Regions from separate parts of the Homo sapiens genome. Here region 1 is linked to region 2. Evidence: promoter capture Hi-C in 16 types of primary human blood cells and fetal thymus (Javierre and others, 2016). All regions are on one chromosome and are shown on one strand. The core of a region is centred on a gene start or on the middle of the fragment in contact, and the rest is flanking DNA. Distances in the headings are between cores, read along the strand shown.

Region 1 (6,808 bases), core at 2,986-5,485, 230 kb before region 2:
ATGTTTAACATTTATTTGTTTCATAACAAATCCATACTTCCTGAAAGATTTCTGAAGATTTGACATCCTCACAGAGCTTTTCCTGAAGCGGAAAATGGGGGTGGGTTGTTTTTTCCATAAGAACTCAGAAGTGATTTTTGAATGCAAAAGGATACGTTATCCAAAAAAATAAATAAATAAAAACAGAAAAACAGAAAACATGAAAAGATATACTACACTAAATATAAATTACTAATCAAGGACTTTGTATTAACTTCTTAGGTTCATTATAGTGTAGTTGAGGATGCCCTAATGCTTGCTCAAGTAGATGTACTGTGTTTCAATATGTAAGTTTTTTTATATAAAAAAACTGTCACCCAGACTGGAGTGCAATGGCATGATCTCAGCTTACTGCAACCTCTGCTTCCTGGGTTTAAGTGATTCTTCTGCCTCACCTCCCCAGCAGCTGGGATTACAGGCGCCTACTACCACGTCCAGCTAGTTTTTGTATTTTTAGTAGAGATGGGGTTTCACCATGTTGGCCAGGCTGGTCTCGAATGCCTGACCTCAGGTGATCCATGCGCCTCAGCCTCCCAAAGTGCTGGGGTTACAGGCGTGAGCCACCATGCCCGGCCTCAATATATTAGTATTTTTTAAAAGACAAACTATTAAAAAACATTTATTGTCTATGTAACTCATCACAAACAACTAAAAAGTAAAATTATTCTTTACACTAACACATAAATGAATGCAAAGATGTGTGTACAGCAATATGTCCTGTAGCATTTCTTTAAAGCAGCCTCAAACTAGGGTAAGGCCAAAACTGCCTATCAATAGAGACTGATTTAAAACTATATATGTAATATTCGACTGTTAGAAAGAATGAGATTAATTTATATTGGCTGATACATAATAATCTCCAATTTAGATTGTTAAAATAAAAATATCTGGGTACAGAAAAAATGTGTATTTTATATATATCTCCCCTTCATTTGCGTGTGTGTGTGTGTGTGTGTGTGTGTGTGTGTTTAAAGGTGATTTCATATAAGTAAAAAAAATAGAACAAAGAATACGAGAGGCTGGGAGGGGTAGGGGAAAGAGAGGCACAGAGAGATTTGTTAAAGAATACAAAATTACGACTAGAGTGGGGGGAATAATTTCTAGTGTTCTATACCACTGCAGGATGACTATAGTAACAATAATACATTATATAGTTTCAAATAGCCATAATAGAAGGAGGATATTGAATGCCCCAACATAAACAAAATGACAAACACTTGAGATGATGGATATGCTAATTAGCCTGGTCTGATCACCATATGTATTACCACATCCCTATGTACTCCCATGAGATCTGCAATTATTATACGTCAATTATTTTTAAGATTAAAATTTTTTAAATTGAAAGAATAAAAAGTTTTTAAAGGTGGCAGGTGCTACATAGATGGATAAGTAATAGACATGAAAAACTGGTAGACTAAAAACTGTTGATAGTGATTAGATGTTTTTATTATATAATCTTTAAAACTATTTCTACTTTTTATAGTCTTATTTTCATAGTAATAAAAGTTATAGTAATATTATAATTATAAAATATTATAATACTTTATAATATTATACAGTATTATAGTGTTATTTTCATAATACTATAAAAAGTTAATAATAATTCCAAGGCTCACAATCCTATATTTTATAATTTAATTCTACATATAGTGCATATGTAGGATACCAACAGCAATATGTAGCTTCAGAGAAAGCAAGAGAATTTTTGGAAAAATTTTGAAACCGTAACAATGACACTGAAACATTTCAGTAATCTGTAATTGGAGATGGCAGGTTGAACACTTGTATAGCCAACCTTCTATCCTAAAACAGAACAGTGAAATAATTTTTATAAGGGCTAAAACAAAAGAACAAAAAGGATGGGAGAGGAGGTGAAAAGCAGATGAAGACCATAACTAATTATCTCACCAAACAACGGTGACTCCTGAGTAAGCAAAGGGGAAAGTCGGCAGTCTGTTCATTCAGTCAGTCATTCACTCATTTGTCCAAATTATTTACTGGGTTCACAGTATGCCAGACATTGTTCTAGGTTCTGGAGATACAGCCATAACAAAACGGAAAACAACTCGCTCTCTTACAGAGTTAACAGTCTAATTAGAGAGTAAAGAAGTGTATATTATGTCAGACAGATTTAGGACAGGAAGTTGGAATGGGGACTGAAATTTCAGATAACATGATCATAGAGAAGATGACACTTGAGGCACAACCAGAGGGAAGTGAGTGAGCTTGACCCACAGAGAGTAAAGGAAAGATAACCCAACTGATGCTTTAGAACTTCCCAGAAGGCTCAGGAATTGGAGAACTTGGGTACTCTGAAAGTATGGCTAAAGGTGAGGATAAAAATAAGAGGGCTGATTGAAAGATTGTTTTAAAAAGCTTGTTTAAGAAAGATTTAGACCCTCCCTTTCACTTTACCTTCAGAGGCATTGCCTTTCTTAGGAAAGGGCAAAATACAATGATGCTGACTGGGGCATACAATGGTTGAAGAGGTACCATACTGAAGATAGGGAGGTTAAGCAAGAATATATAAACCAAATATCAAAAACCCCAGTTATCTTCTGAGTCTAGTTCCCCAGAATGCTTGCAGCTAAAGCCTAAACTCTCCCATTCAGAGTACTGTAGGAACCTTCTTTGGGGACTCTGACAAGTCCCCCAAAAAAGATCTGACACTGATGGTCCATTGACAGTAATACACAGAAGATCACAGTCAAAAAGGCTCCTCTGTGTACACTGGACTTCCAATCAACTGTGTTTCATTCTTAAAATATAACAAGTTAAAATAAACATGTGAGGAGAAGGTAAAACCAGCAGAAAAATGCAGTTTGGAAGAAACTGACCATACAGGGAGAAGAAACCCTTTAAGACACATACATATATTTATACTCTCAAAAAAAATAGTGAAAATTTTAGAGTTTTTAAAATGCTGGGCCTAAATCAAAACATAAGGTCTAAATCAGAAGAAGATAGGTAAATGGATTTTCTTCTATCTTCTTTTCTAGTCCCCAGCAATCTAAAAGATTAACAGATAAACTTGGATATACCTAGGTTATTACCGAGGATTGATCCATCTCCTTTTAGGAAAAAAGGACCTAAGGTATTGGATTGCATAGCCTGCAAGTTGCCATTTCAATCACCAATTGCCCTTCTTGAATCTTCCTTCTAAAATGAAAATGAAATTGTGGCTAAAAATCCAACTCAGCTAATCTTCGAGTCTTTTGGCTTCCTTAATCTTCTTTTATTATGGTTTCTAATGTAAGAATGAAAAAGCCAATTCTCTCATTTTAGTGGTAGATTAAATTCTTTCAGCAAAAGCCATTCACATTTGTGTTTTTGAAACCTACTACCTGACTGACCATGAGCAAGGCCAGCCTCCTTGTATCTGACAAGCCCTGGATGCTATTTTCTTTAAAGTGACTCTGAACCCAGAGAGTCATCTTAGATGATTATTACCTAAAAGGGTACAGAATAAATTTCAAAATAAATGAAATTCCAATAAAAGCATTTGAAGCTATATTGTAAAAACTGTGACAATATTAGATTAAATGTATTTTCATTATCTAATCTTGAAGCTATGGATTCCCAACTTACCCAGACTTGGACATAAATAAAAACAAAGCTGGCACTCTGCTCTAGATAAGAAGAAATTATCTTGGTATATAGGAGTGTAAGGGGTAAAATCTGTAAAATATGATGGTGATTTGGGGGTTTTCCTGGTGTGTCAGGAAGAGTAAGCAGTGATGCCTCTTCTATTTGTGATGGCAGAGTAGAAACATCTACGTTCTGATGAAATCCTTACCACTATTAATCATAATTTTATAATCTCAGATTACATAGCAGATGCCTCTAAAATTAACTATTAAATAAATGAATTAACTAATAAGATAAATGAATAGCATCAGGCTATTCTGAAAGAACTATCGGAAGCTCTGGCTAGAATGAAAACATTATTATTATTATTATTATTAGAAAAACAAAAGGCACACACCACAGCAATACTTCTTAAGGCTACATTCATTAAAATACTAATATTTAACAAAAACCCTCTACTGAGTACCCACCACCACAAGCAGTGCCACAGATACAGAGATGAGAGAGACCTGGTTCCTGGTATCGAGTAACTCACATCGGAGAAGATAAACATGTAAGCAATTAACTATAACGTGATATCATCATAATCTAGAAGTATGTACAAATTATTACAGTAAAATACATATTCATTTAGCTTAGGGGGGGATGACTAAGTTAGAGGGAATATATGGGAAGTTTGGAATGAGAATATATAATATGGCCAGAGGCGGTGGGTCTATAATCCCAGGACTTTGGGAGACCAAGGCAGGTGAATCACTTGAGCCCAGGAGTTTGAGACCAGCTTGGGTGAGATCTCATCTCTACAAAAACACAAAAATTAGCCAGGTGTGGTGGCGCATGCCTGTAGTCTCAGCTACTCAGGAGATTGGGGTGGGAGGATTGCCTGAACCTGGGAGGTGAAGGTTGCAGTGAGCCAAAATTGCGCCACTGAACTCCAGCCTGGGAGACACAGCAAGACCCTGTCTCTCCAAAAAAAAAAAAAAAAAAAAAAAAAAAAAAAAAAAAATATATATATATATATATATATATATATATATATATATGCGCACACAAAATCTCAAATATATAAATATATATATAAAAATTGAGAACTGGTAGGACTGTATCACATGATACTACTATAAAACATTTTATAAAATAAAGTGTTTTTAAAATGTGCTGTGTGACTTGAAAATGGCTGAGGCCAGGTGATGGGTCCTAAGTGTTCATTATACCATAATCTTTAGTTTTATATATGTTTGACATTTTCCATAATAAATTCTTCAATTTGTTTAGAGTTGTTCCCTTACTGTATGCTGTTTAAGTAGACTAGTGTAGTAATTTATCATGTAATTCAGAGACCATTGAAAAAGAAAACTAACATTTTGTAGTTTAAGCATATCTATAATCAAATCTTATAATCATGAACTTATGCTATAGGCTTTTGTAATCCTTACTTCTAAAACAGAACTTTATATTAATAATATATATGCTGTCTATATATATACTATATATACATTATACAATATACACAAAAAATATATATACATTAGTATAAAAATCAATTTGCTATGTGGAAAGCAATCATGGGATGATTTAAACTGAATATAAACATCTGCACAGTTTTGAAATATACATTTGGCTATTATTATGTATCAGATCCCGGAACATATTATTTCATAGATGCTTTCCTCAGAGTAGTTTTCTCTACTTAATCATTGAGAAGAAACTCACCTTCACAGCAATTTCAAGGCTACTTCACTAAGAAAATAAGAGCATTGACAATACTTCCTTCAACTTTCTTCCTGCCCTGTCCTCCCTTCTGTTGTTTTCCTCTCTCATCCTTCTAAGGAACTATAACAGGCTGAGTAAGCACACAGGTTCTAAAGCCAATATATTATTGTGCCTAACTCCTCAGTGCGCCGTCACAAACCCTCTGAATCTGAAATTGGTGGTGAATAGCTATCCCTAATTCAGTTGTGTAAGGAGTGAGTTTCAGCTGTTACAACATCCTTCGCCTTCCTCTCCATTCCCAACATCCCACATCGAACCTACACTGTGTTCTTAGTACATCACATACCCACTTCCTTCCAGCCCAAAGAGTAACCTAAACTGTCACCTATTTAAGTTGGCAGAGAGTCAAAGTTACTTCCTGTAATTATATCAAGAAGGTAAAACTGTTCTGTTTTATTTCTGCTTATTTCCAAATCCAATAACCACTTCTCTCAATGTTCATTGTACTTTGCTGCTCTACGTCATTGGCAATAATAATTCTATATTTTCTTTCCCTTGAAATCATCATTTGCTCTTTTGGCTTCAATTTACACCCTCATATAGATGATACCAAAATCTGTATTTCTAGTTACCATCTCTTGAGTTCTCAAAAAGAATTTCCAACTACCAATCAAGCAACTAATTCCATGTGGTGAGATCATCAGTATCTCAAGCTTAAGGTACGCAAACGAAAAATTATTTTATCCACCTTTTCTACCCAAAGATATTCCTGTGTACTTTACCAAAGTAAATATATTATCATCTTTACTAACACTCCAGAGCATCTTTAACCCTTAACTTTCATTCAAAATGCCCCCTACTTAGTTACTTGTCAAGTTCTATTGATTTTACTTCTGTTATTTCTCTTACTTTCTTCTGCAACCATTTCTACTTCTAACACCATAGTTCAAGACCCCTTTCATTCCAGCCTGAACTATGTACAATAACTAAATAGTCTCCGCTCTCAATGTCTTCTCTCTCTATTGTTCAACCACCATATTATCCATCACAATAGCATTTACAACTCTTTAGAAACTGACCCATGTGTTTGTTTTCAGTCTTTCTCTTCCCTCCTCCTCATCATGGGCTCTAATCAAATAGAGCTTCTCACATTCTCCAAGTATGTCTCACACAATATACATGTAAAATATGTTCTCTTGTTTATTATAAGTTTGGCTGTGACCTTAGTGTTAACTCACATTATATCCTAATTTTCCTTTATTTCCTATGTTTTATTTGTTTCCACAATTCCCACTGTTGAAGTTCCTTTTTGTTCTTTTGCGACCTGCAGCAACTTATCAAAGTGGATTCTAAAGTCAGTGCAGCTTTCTACATCACCACTATCCCTTAATATTTTTTTCAAGTATATTATTTCCTTTGAAAAATCTGCATTATAGTGGTTAATACAAAAGTCAAGAAAATATTT
Region 2 (6,662 bases), core at 2,817-5,316:
TCACTATTTGATCCTGTCAACCAATATTAGGAGTAACCACTGCATTATATTTACATTTGACTCTATGATAATATGTAATATTCACATTTTGACTCTCTTTGGGAGAAATAAAGAATAAATGTTAGTTCCCAGGCCAAAATAACAGTTGATACTTTCTTCTGCATCAACATTGCATCTGTTAGACTGGAATGAAAACAACACATATTCTGATTAAAGGCTATGTTTTATACTTTTCAAGTAATTATTTTCAACTTTTTTTCCTTTTTTTTTGAGACAGAGTTTTGCTCTTGTTGCCCAGGCTGGAGTGCAATGGCGCGATCTCAGCTCACTGCAACCTCCGCCTCCTGGGTTCAAGCGATTCTGCCTCAGCCTCCTTAGTAGTTAGGATTACAGGTGTGTGCCACCACGCCCAACTAATTTTGTGTTTTTAGTAGAGATGAGGTTTCTTGTTGGCCAGGCTGGTCTTGAACTCCTGACCTCAGGTGATCCGCCCGCCTCGGCCTTCCAAAGTGCTGGGATTATAGTTGTGAGCCATTGTGCCTGGCCTATTTTCAGTATTTTTGTTTAAATTTTGTAAAAAGGTAAAATAAATGATTTTTGAAAATAGCTGGAGTTGTTTTCATAGAGTCTGTGGTTATAGGACTATTTAACTATATATTGAGTAAAATCTATGCTATGTCAAGTTTTATTCAGTTGTCCCTAGTAGAATATATTTCTCTTTTAATTCTGTATACAGTATGAGTAACTCCAGTTTAAAACACTGGTATTTTAATGAGTTTAAATTGTACTGTTATATATTATGATACATATTTTTCTTCTGGCTGTGGTTTAGTTTTTAAAATTTTTGATGTCCATTTTAATTTTTAGAAATAAAAGCTTAAAAATATGGGTGGAAGTAGATTTCAGTTTGATGATTATCTTGGTGAAAGTATAGTACCTGTGAAATGGTGGTAATAATTTGATTCTTTATTCTATTTTGATTGTAGCTCCTTTTGTAAGGAGCATTTGTAAAATTTAGTTGCTTTAGAGTTATACAAATCCTTTTATTACCATTTATTAACTGTTTGTTGTTTTAGGACCTGATCCCAACCTTGAAGAAAGTCCTAAAAGAAAAAATATTACATATGAGGAATTAAGGAATAAGAACAGAGAGTCATATGAAGTATCTTTAACACAAAAGACTGACCCCTCAGTCAGGCCTATGCATGAAAGAGTGCCAAAAAAAGAAGGTATGATAGTTTAGTCTGAATCACTTTACTGTTGAGGATTGGAAACTAAAACATTACTTTAAAACAATACTATAAAAAATTAATTAATATGTGATTTAACTCTTCAAGCAATTAACCAAAGTAAAATATTTTTAAAATAGTACTTTACAGTTATCAGTTCTTTTTTTTTTTTTGAGACGGAGTCTTGCTCCGTCGCCAGGCTGGAGTGCAGTGGCACGATCTTGGCTCACTGCAGCCTCTGCCTCCTGGATTCAAGCAATCCTCCTGCCTCAGCCTCCCAAATAGCTAGGACTACAGGCCCCCACGCCCAGCTAATTTTTTGTATTTTTAGTAGAGATGGGGTTTCATCATGTTGGCCAGGATGGTCTCGATCTTTTGACCTTGTGATCCGCCTGCCTCAGTCTCTGAGAGTGCTAGGATTACAGGCTTGAGCCACCGTGTCCGGCCAGTTTTCCATTTTTAAGGTGTTCCAAAGGCCATTTTGTGTTAGAAAATAATGAAGTCAAGGCCAGGTGTGGTGTCTCATGCCTGAAATCCCAGCACTTTGGGAGACCAAGCTGGGTGTATCACTTGAGGCCAGGAATTGGAGACCAGCATGGCCAACATGGCGATACCTTGTCTCTACTAAAAATACAAAAATCAGCTGGGCATGGTGGTGCATGCCTGTAATCCTAGCTACTCGGGAGGCTGAGGCAGGAGAACTGCATGAACCCAGGAGGCAGAGGTTGCAGTGAACCGACATCACGCCACTGCACTGCAGCCTGGATGACGGAGCGAGGCTCTGTTCCCCCCTCCCCCCGCCAAAAAAAGGAAGAAAATAGTGAAGTCCAAATAGTAAGTCTTAAGACAGCAAGATTAGTTTAACACAGGGTAGAGACATACTCATTTGACTGTTTCTCTCTTACAACAAATCTCCTTGGAGATCTGATAGTCTTATTTTCCTAATGATACATCTATCGCATAAGTTGCTGTAGTGACCTGAGGTTGGCGTTGCGCTGTAATACCACTTGTGGCCTAACCACAGAATGATTGAGTAATGAGATTGATTTTCTTGTACATTTGGGTTTTTCTCGTGTTTTTTTGTTCTGTTTGTTTGTTTTTTCTTTTTGAGATGGTTTTATTCTGTCACCCAGGCTGGAGTGCAGTGGTGTAATCATGGCTTACTGCAGTCTTGACCTCCTGGGTTCAAGCAGTCCTCCTACCTCAGCTTCCTGAGTAGCTGGGACTACAGTTGTATGCCACCATCCCTGGCTGTTAAAAATTTTTTTTGGTGCAGTGGGTTTTTCCCTATGTTGCCAAGGCTGGTCTCAAACTCCTGGGCTCAACCAGTCCTTTCACCTTGGCCTCCCAGAATGCTGGGATTATAGGTGGGAGCCACTGTGCCTGACCTTTCTTGTACATTTGTGAATTTGAAAGAGTTATATGCCAGCTTCTAAGGCATTTCTTAAAGATGAATTTTTAAATCCTGGTTTCTTTTAAGTCTTTTTGGAATAGCTATACATTAGCCAAAGTAAATTTTTTGATACAAGTTTACCTCTAAAGGAAGAGGACATTCGAATAGGGTTTTATAGCTATTTCAGTATAGGGTTTTATGATTTTCTCTTAAGGAATTTCAGAGTATGTGTCATTGTTTCAAGATTTTCTATTTACTACTTTAAAAATGGAAATAATAGGTCTTTGGTACCTTCTTGAAGGTCATATGCCACAAAGAATGCAAAAATACATGAAAGTCCTTAGTATTTGTTGTTATGGTCATTTTTTAGAGCTAATTTTATTTTTAATCATTAGCGGTTGCTTCGTTTGGAGTTCTGTTTTTATAACAATGATAGATAATATCTGCATCATATTATTGATGTAAAAAAAATCTACCTTTGAAATGAATTAGGGATGTACCATACTTTTGAATGTTTGTCATCAAACAACATTTAGCATAAACTGCATCTAGTGGCCATTGCTCTGTAATATGTAAAGACTTGTCGGTACTTTGTCCTGCTAATTAATTTGAGGATTTAGATTGTAAGCTCTGTGAGGGCAGAAAGTAATATTTTTCTCATTTTTGTAATCTTTTCTATTATTGTCTGCATAGCATAGTACTTTACACTGTATCAGAAATTGAGTATTTTGGTTTAGGCTTCTATGGTAATAGAGGTTAAGAAAGGAAATTTGGTAGACCTTTAACATTTGCTGGATTTTGACATTTTTGATTTTTGACTGAAGTCTTCAAGTTCTGTTACATGACACAAGAATGTGAAATGATTTTTTCTTTTTTTGGGAAAAGCTGGTTTTTTGTGTGCTTTATATAATTTAAAGAAAAGACTTGTTATGAAATAGTTTCAGTCATTTTCTGAATTATTGTTGAAATTAGTACAGGGTAGATTCACATGGTCAGAAAGTGTCACTTAAAGTTTTCACCTTTAGCTTATGTGGTTGATATTTATCTAATTAGAAATTAAGACCCAGAAATTTAAAAAATTCAAGCACATATTCCATTAGCTGCCAGAGCAATGTCACCACACATCCTGTAGCTTCTAGAAAACCATGTAACATATACTCATGAGGGAATGAGAGCAAGGGGAAAAGGCAAAATGTGAAACATAAGGATATATAATGTCTTAGTATAATAATGAAATAATTTTGACTTCATGTATTCCCTGAAGAGTCCACACTGTGATAACTGCTGCTTTATATTGTTATGATTACTCACAGACAGAAGCTATGTGGAAGAGAAGCAAAAAAGTAAAGGAGTAGAATAGACAGCGGAGCATGTTTTAAAATGTAAAATATAGAGTACCTGTAAAATGTAGTAGTATTTTCTTCTTATAGTAGTATTTACAGCCCTGAGAGAGAAGATTGAATTAATTACAACTTGAACACTTGACCATTTCTACTGCTGTATTTTTTGTGAAAAACGAAAATTCAAATGTTTGTTTTATTATTTCCCACTATTTTTTTTTTTTTTTGTATATGGCTTAATATGTGCCACACTTAGGTAGTATGGTAAAGATGTAAAGGTACCTAGGCTTTGGATCTAAACAGACCTATACTCAAATCTCAGTTCTTGTTAGGGCTTGTACCTTGGGCAAGTTACTAATCTTTTTTCTCACCATTAAAATGAGAATTGTGTTTAGAAGTTTGTTATGAGGACTAACTATTTATGTAAAATTCTAGATACAATGCATTTGTCCAACCCCAAGTTCACAAAAGTCTGGTCATCCCCTTTTTGTAATTATAATTTGACTCTCATGTGCTTTTATTCAAATGAGAGAGAAACATAACTTTTCATCATAGCAACAAACTTAAAATAATGTCTTTTACTTATTATTGCTTGGAATCATCAATTATTTATGCTTTTTTCCTAGTCAAAGTAAACAAGTATGGAGATACTTGGGATGAGTGAAAAATTACATCATTGGACATGAAGGAGTTTCAACATCCAGCTTCATCTAGGTGGTCATGATTACCTGCATGCTTTGAGCTCAGCAGCAGTCTTCATAAACACATTTAAAACAAGATCCTGGGTTTTTGTGGTTTGACTTCTATGGTGTTTTAAAAAAACACAGATTTTTAGTGTTAATATTGTGTAAATGTACTCACCTTAGGGATTCATTTGAATGATGGTATTATACCATGATTGTATACAGTTTGTGAAATTGTTGCAAGGGCAAAGATAACTCTTAAAAAACCGTCGAGATTACAATGCTCTAGAATCAGCATATAAGAAAATAAATGATATCTGCATGTTGAATTGGGGTGGATGGGGGGAGCAAGCATAATTTTTAAGTGTGAAGCTTTGCATCAAGAAATTATTAAAAAGCTTTTTTTCTCCAGTATTTTCTGTATTATCTTAATGTTTATGGCAAATAAAATGTAAAGGAACATGCAACAGCCCTCATCTTCCTTGATTTTATGGTTTTATTGTTTGTAATTTATTGATTTATTTTTAAGCTAGTTATAATCATGTAGGTATAGGAAATAAAGTCATCTATAATATTTCTATAATATGGCTATAATATGGCTATAAATCTATAATATGGCTGGAGGCAGTGGGCAGTGGTTCATGCCTGTAATCCCAGCACTTTGGGAGGCCGAAGTGGGAGGATTGCATGAGTCCAGGAGTTTGAGACCAGCCTGGGCAACAAAGCGAGACCCTGTCTTTACAAAAAAATAAAAATTAGCTGGCGATGGTGTCGTGTGCCTGTAGTCCTAGTTACTTAAGAGGCTGAGTTGGGAGGATCAGTTGAACCCAGTGGTTCTGGGTTGCAGTGAGCTGTGGTCACACCACTGAACTCCAGCCTGTGCGACTGAGTGAGACCCTGTGTCTAAAAAAATAAAAATATAATGAATGTGATTTATGTAGATAAATTGATAATATAGTAAATAGGTAAATGCCTTAAAAAGCATTTTTAAAGAATTTGTAAATTCTAAAACAATAAAAATTTGGTATACATCACAGAGACTGATATTATGTTAAAAAGAAAAATTGGTGTACAGTGACCCTTCGTATCTGTGGGTTCCGTATCTGCAGATTCAATCAACTGCAGATTGAAAATATTTGAGGGAGAGAAATGGATGGTTGTCTGTACTGAACTCTTGTTATTCCCAAACAATACATTGTAATAACTATTTACATAGCATTTACATTAGGCATTACAAGTAATCTATAAATGACTTAAAGTATATAGGAGGATGTGCATTGGTTATATGTAAATACTACACCATTTTATAGTGGACGTTAGGAACCTGGACCAATAGACCCCCACCTAGTCACATTTTAGAAAGAACACATGGGATGGGAGATACCGCAGCCATCTTTCAGTCTATCATTTGGCAGCTGTAATTCACATCCCTTTCCTGAGGACCTCTGTTTCCTATGCCATTACAAAAGCTCAAAGTCTAGGAGCTGATCATCTAATCAGGATAAGGTATGGATGAGGCTCCTTGGGTAAAGCTTCATGAATAAAAGCGTCATGAATACCATTTCTCTGTCTGAAGGCCTGAACTTAAGAACTTATCTGCTTTGTTCACCTGTTAGGCATAACATCACTACTCTGGAGATTCCCATTCAAAAAGAGAAAAGGAAAGGCTTGGCTTGCAATTCTGAAGTCTAGCCAGCCTAATGTGGCTGTTCTTTGGGGCCTAGGTATATTCCCTGGGGGTTGTTCTCTGGTGCTTTTGACCCTGCCCTCTGATTTTTCCTTTTCTATTGAGGCACTTGTGTTTGCAGCTGAGTAGTTTTTTTTGTTTGTTTTTTAAAGCCTACTCCCTCACAGAATTTGGGGGTCCAAAGGCCTATTTTTACTACTACCCCTGTCCAAGCTGACATATTTTTTCATATTTTTTTCCTGTGTATTTCTCATGTATCAATTTATAATCCATTCTATTACACAAGAGCCACTCATAAAGTCTATTGGAAATAGTCCTTTTTCTATGTTG

Evidence for each region. The method cuts DNA at HindIII sites, captures the fragments that hold promoters and counts their contacts. A CHiCAGO score of 5 or more calls a contact.
Region 1: a contact is called between a fragment that was not itself captured here and the fragment with the promoter of OCIAD1-AS1 in region 2, in 4 of 17 cell types (M2 macrophages, naive CD4 T cells, naive B cells and 1 more). The highest score is 6.1, in M2 macrophages.

The regions. Positions count from the first base shown.
Region 1 is chr4:48,627,457-48,634,264 of GRCh38, forward strand. The region is part of intron 4 of FRYL (FRY like transcription coactivator); the gene reads right to left. Among named protein-coding and RNA genes, the nearest start is that of ZAR1, 140 kb to the left of the region's middle. The HindIII fragment of the contact is 3,638 bases long and covers 2,417-6,054 here.
Region 2 is chr4:48,856,137-48,862,798 of GRCh38, forward strand. It overlaps OCIAD1-AS1 (OCIAD1 antisense RNA 1), which reads right to left and starts at 4,067. Exons shown (of 2, transcript NR_146806.1): 1 at 4,021-4,067. OCIAD1 (OCIA domain containing 1) reads left to right here. Exons shown (of 9, transcript NM_017830.4): 8 at 1,077-1,229; 9 at 4,589-5,679. The coding sequence ends at 4,626. The HindIII fragment of the contact is 4,141 bases long and covers 875-5,015 here.